2 separate regions of the Homo sapiens genome follow, and region 1 is linked to region 2. Evidence: promoter capture Hi-C in human tissues and cell types (Jung and others, 2019). All regions are on one chromosome and are shown on one strand. Each heading gives the region's core, a stretch centred on a gene start or on the middle of the fragment in contact. The rest is flanking DNA. Distances are from core to core; before and after follow the strand shown.

Region 1 (2,700 bases), core at 167-2,666, 340 kb after region 2:
AAAGCAAGCAAGAAAGAAAGAGGAGAAAGAAAAGAAAGAGAGAAAAAAGGAAAGAAAGAAAAAAGAAAAAGAAAGAAGGGAGGGAGGGAGGGAAAGAAAGAAGGGAAGGAAGGAAGGAAGGGAGAAGAAAGGGAGGGAGAAAGGGAAAGAAAAGAAGAAAAGAAAAGAAAAGGCCAGGTGCAGTGCCTCATGCCTGTAATCCCAGCACTTTGGAAGGCCAAGGTGGGCAGATCACCTGAGGTCAGAAGTTCAAGACCAGCCTGGCCAACCAACATGGTGAAACCCTGGCTCTACAGAAAATACAAAAATTAGTGGGGCATGGTGGTGGGCACCTATAATCCCAGCTACTTGGGAAGCTGAGGCAGGAGAATCGCTTGAACCCAGAAGGTGGAGGTTACAGTGAGCCGAGATCACACCACCGGACTCCAGTCTGGGCAACAAGAGCAAAACTCCATTAAAAAAAAGAAAGAAATAGGCCAGGCGCAGTGGCTCACGCCTGTAATCCCAGCACTCTGGGAGGCCGAGACAGGCAGATCACGAGGTCAGGAGATCAAGACCATCCTGGCTAACACGGTGAAATCCCATCTCTACTAAAAATACAAAAAAAAAATTAGCCAGGCGTGGTGGTGGGCGCCTATAGTCCCAGCTACTCAGGAGGCTGAGGCAGGAGAATTGCTGGAAACTGGAGGCGGAGGCCGCACTCCAGCGGCGAGAGAGTGAGACTCCATCAAAAAAGAAAGGGAGGGAGGGAAGGAGGGAAGGAGAGAAGGAGGGAGGGAGGGAGAGGAGGAGAGGAGAAAAGAGGGAGGGGAGGGGAGTGGAGGGGGAGAATAATTTGTAACCACTAATGAAATAGCAGGTCCTGGCAGGGATTTCCAATGGCTGCTAATATCACAACATCAGGCTCTGTGGGACTCTTTCCCTCTCCATGAAGTTGCACCCACCCTGTGGTCATCTTCTTGCTAAAAAAATCAACCTGAATGAGATTAAACAGACCAGTTTGGACATTTACACCTAGAGCTAACTGACTATAGGAAATATAAGGGTTGAGGAACGTGCCACATCAACCACAAGGACGAAATCAGCAAAATCCAGACAGGTGGAACCCTTTGGAACAAAAGACCTGCCTTCTTCCACAAATAACCTGAAAGGAGAAAAATGAAAGAGGGTAAATCCCGCGGTTAAAAGAGATTTAAGAGACATAGTGGCCAAGTGCAATGATTGGAAACCAACCGTTAAAAGAAATTTAGGTGGGTCGCGGTGGCTCACGCCTGTAATCCCAGCACTTTGGGGGGCCGAGGCGGGTGGATCACGAGGTCAGGAGATCGAGACCATCCTGGCCAACACGGTGAAACCCCGTCTCTACTAAAAATACAAAAAAAATACAAAAAAATACAAAAAAAATACCCCGTCTCTACTAAAAATACACCAGCCGGGCGTGGTGGTGGGCGCCTGTAGTCCCAGCTACTCGGGAGGCTGAGGCAGGAGAATGGCATGAACCCAGGAGGCGGAGCTTGCAGCGAGCCGAGATCACACCACTGCACTCCAGCCCGGGTGACAGAGTGAGACTCCGTCTCAAAAAAAAAAAAGAAAGAAATTTAAGGCTGGGCATGGTGGCTCACACCTGTAATCGCCACATTTTAGGAGGCTGAGGTGAGAGGATCTCTTGAGACCAGGAGCTTGAGACCAGCCTAAGCAACATAGGGAGACCCCATCTCTACAGAAAGTTTAAAAATTATCTGGGCATGGTGGTGCACGCCTGTAGTCCCAGCTACTCAAGCGGCTGAGGTGGGAGGATTGCTTGAGCCTAGGAAGTCGAGGCTGCAGTGAGCTGTGATTGTGCCACTGCACTCTAGCCTGGGCAACAAAGCAAGACCCTGTCCCCCCAAAAAAACAGACAAACAAAACAACAACAAAAAATTTAAGACAACCAAGGAAATTTGGACATTAGATGATACTAAGTATCGATCAATAATTGGTGGGTGGGGGCATGATACTGTGATTTTTTTTTTTTTTTTTTTTTTTTTGAGATAGAGTCTTGCTCTGTCACCCAGGCTGGAGTGCAGTGGCTCAATCTCGGCTCACTGCAACCTCTGCCATGTGGGTTCAAGCAATTCTCCTGCCTCAGCCTCTGGAATAGCTGGGATTACAGGCGCACGCCACCATGCCTGGCTAATTTTTGTATTTTTAGTAGAGATGGGTTTCACCATGTTGGCCAGGCTGGTCTTGAACTCCTGACCTCGTGATCCGCCCGTCTCGGCTTCCCAAAGTGGTGGGATTACAGGAATGAGCCACCGCGCCCAGCTTGTGGTTGTTTTTTCAAAAAGAGTCCTAGGCTGGGTGCAGTGGCTCATGCCTGTAATCCCAGCACTTTGGGAGGCCTAAGCAGGAGGACCATTGAGTCCAGGAGTTCAGCCTGGGCAACATAGTGAGATGCTGTCTCCAAAAAAAACACAAAAGCAAACAAACAAAAGGCCATGGAGGAGGCCAATCCCCAGCTGTGCTGAGCCAGGATCAGATTCTCTCAGCCCCTTTCAGCAGCACCTGTCCTCCTCTGAGTCAATATATTGCTGTTGCAGCCGGGCGCGGTGGCTCATGCCTGTAATCCCAGCACTTTGGGAGGCCGAGGTGGACGGATCACCTGAGGTCAGGAGTTTGAGACCAGACTGACCAACATGGAGAAACCCCATCTCTACCGAA
Region 2 (2,700 bases), core at 4-2,503:
CTGCGTGCACTGGGCCCTGCTCCAGGGAAGGAGACACAGGAGATCACGTCACATGCAAACAGGCTTTGTTTGGGCTGGCTCAGCCTGGTGCCAGAGCCCCAGTGACGTGTGGGTGGGACTTGGCCCTGGGGCCATGGATGGCACAGGGCAGGGGGATTATCTCCCACTCAGGCCAAGCAGGGGCCGGATCTGGAGAAGCAGAGGTTTTAGAAAGCCCACTGCTTCCTGGTGACAGATGGGGCTTCCAGCTGTCCCCAGCCCCCTCTGCCTATCCCAGCTGTCCACCACAGCCAGGAGGCCAGGCAGCCATGGGTAATCTCGCCCTGCCCGGTGCACTGGCCATACGGGGTAAGAGGCCTGGCCTCAGGTCCCCTGCAGCCAGCTTGACAGCGTCACCTCGGGCCCCCACTGTCAGGGGATCTGGGCACCCACCAAGGCCCCTCTCTTCTGAGCCTCTGCCCACTGGGCTCTGTAATGTGGACTGGCCCCTGCTCCCCCCACATCCCCCGCCGGCTGCTGGTGGCTGGGCAGGGCTCTGAGAATCGCTCCCAGCCTGGGAAGAAGCCTCCCACGCCAGGGCCCCGGACCCAGGAGAGGCCATGGAAAGCCTGAACCCCAGCTGGCTGACACCCCCCACACCCCCAAGGGCCCTTAGTCTGAGACCAACTCTCCTGGACACCAGGGGCCCACGCAGGCCCTCCGTGCCCCAGTTACCTGTGCCCTGGAGGCAGCCACGGAGTCACGACCACGCGGGGGACGCCAGCCCACAGGCGGAGGCCGGTTTGTGCTGGGGCCCAGGGCCTGCCCCTCCGAGATCTGGGGCCGCCAGGGGGTCCGGCTGCTTCTGCTGCTGGGCTCGGGGCGGGGAAAGGGTTAATTTCCATGCAAACCGGGAGCCGTGGGGCCCAGGGGCATCACGTCCGCAGCGGAGGGAGGCAGCGGCGCGCAGGCCGGGCCGCCAGGGACTCACCGGGGTCGAAGTGCGAGCTGAAGGCGAAGCTGGGGTTGAAGAAGGACGACGACATGGCCGGGCCAGCGGCCGGCGGGCATCCCGGGAGGGCGCTGCGCTCAGGACGCCCGCGGCCCCGGCCCGAGCCGCCGCATCACCCAGCGGCCGCCGCAGGTGCGGAGCGCGCCGGCCCCCGCGCCCCGCGCCCCCCGCCGCAGCCGCAGAGCCCGCACCGGTGGGGGCGGCGGCGACAGACGAGGCGCTCCGCCCGGCCCTGGCGCCGCGGGGCTCCGCTGGTGCAGTCCGAAAACGCGGGCGGGAGCGCGCGCGGAGCGGCGCGGGGGAGGGGGGGGCCCTCCGCGGCCGGGGTGGCATGGGGGGAGCACGGAGAGGGGGACACGGAGGGGGAGACAGAGGGGAGCACGGAGTGGGGGACACAGAAGGGGGCTTGGAGGGGGGACACGGAGGGGAGGCATGGAGGAGGGGGGACGGGGGGCCGTGCACGGAGCGGGGATGGCACGGAGTGGGGGGATGGTCCGGAGCGGGAAGCACGGCGGCCTGGGGCTGAGGGGGGCACGGAGGCTGGCGGGGGGGGGGGAAACGGAAGTCGTGAATGGTAAGTCGTGAGTGGGTACGGAGGGAACGCCGGGGTGGGGGAGGGGGTACTCCTAGGTGGAAAGGTTCAGGGAGACAGGTGGGGGAACCCGGGAGCACACCCAGGGCGGGTCTTGGTGCTCAGGGGCCCTCGCCTCACTTGCAGGTTTCGAGGCGGCTGGCAGCCGCCCCCCCACCCCATGCCCTTTGGGTGGCACCTGTGCTGGTGGAGTGGGGGTGGCTGGCTTTGCACACAGGCCTGCTCCTGTACCGTGCTGCGACAGCCATGAAGGAAGAACCTGGCTGAGTCTCCACCTGCCGTGGACTGTACCAGGTGCTTAGGGCAGCAGGTTGGCCTGGGCGCTGAGGGGCCATCCCTTCCCCTATGTTTCTCCCAGGATCCCCCATCCCCGCCCAAAGTGCCACCTTGCAGGGTTGGGGCGGGGCAGGGTCCCCCCAGCCTGCCCCCGTGGGAGTCGGGAGAGTTAAAGTTCAGTGGAAGCTGGTCCCAGTGGCTCATGCCTGTAATCCCAGCACTTTGGGAGGCCAGGGCAGGCGGGTGGCTTGTGCTCAGGGGTTCCAGACCAGCCTGGGCAACATAGCAAGACACTTTCTCTACAAAAATTAGAAAAATGAGCCAGGCATGGTGGCGCTCACCTGTAGTCTCAGCTACTTGGGAGGCTGAGGTGGGAGGATCACTTGAGCCTGGGAGTTAGAGGCCGCAGTGAGCCAAGATGGCACCACTGCACTCCAGCCCGGGTGACAACAAGATCTTGTCTCAAAAAAAGTGTCCTGGAGACTTGCAGTTGAGTTTGATGCACCCTCATCCACTCATTCATTCACTCACTCATTCATTCACTCACTCATTCATTCACTCACTCATTCTGGGACCAGATGGCTAAGCCCCTTGGCAAGGCCCAGTTGGGGTTGGGGGCTGTGGAGCAGGTGAGAGGCGCCCACTCCAACAGGGCTCTTAGGACTTTAGGGAGAGAAAGGAGCCTGTTCCCGGCAGAGGGACCTGCAGAGACCAGGACAGGATGCTTGGGCCACGGGGCAGATGGGCACCAGGACCCACCCTTCTTTTCCTAAGGGGGTCCCTCATGTAGGAAGTTTCCTCCTAACAGGCAAAGCAAGGGGCCTCCACCCTGTGCCCTCAG

The links. Contacts are between HindIII fragments. The study calls those that stand out against the background at their distance.
Region 1: a fragment that was not itself captured here is called in contact with the fragment with the promoter of AATK in region 2 in 2 of the 25 tissues and cell types used here (dorsolateral prefrontal cortex and small bowel).

What each region holds. Positions count from the first base shown.
Region 1 is chr17:81,503,793-81,506,492 of GRCh38, forward strand. No RefSeq gene overlaps it. Among named protein-coding and RNA genes, the nearest start is that of ACTG1, 7.7 kb to the right of the region's middle. The HindIII fragment of the contact is 9,311 bases long and covers 1-2,700 here.
Region 2 is chr17:81,164,968-81,167,667 of GRCh38, forward strand. It overlaps AATK (apoptosis associated tyrosine kinase), which reads right to left and starts at 1,254. Exons shown (of 14, transcript NM_001080395.3): 1 at 971-1,254. The coding sequence starts at 1,025. It overlaps PVALEF (parvalbumin like EF-hand containing), which reads left to right and starts at 540. Exons shown (of 7, transcript NM_001354639.2): 1 at 540-780; 2 at 1,710-1,877. RefSeq lists enhancers at 1-51, 52-795. The HindIII fragment of the contact is 13,495 bases long and covers 1-2,700 here.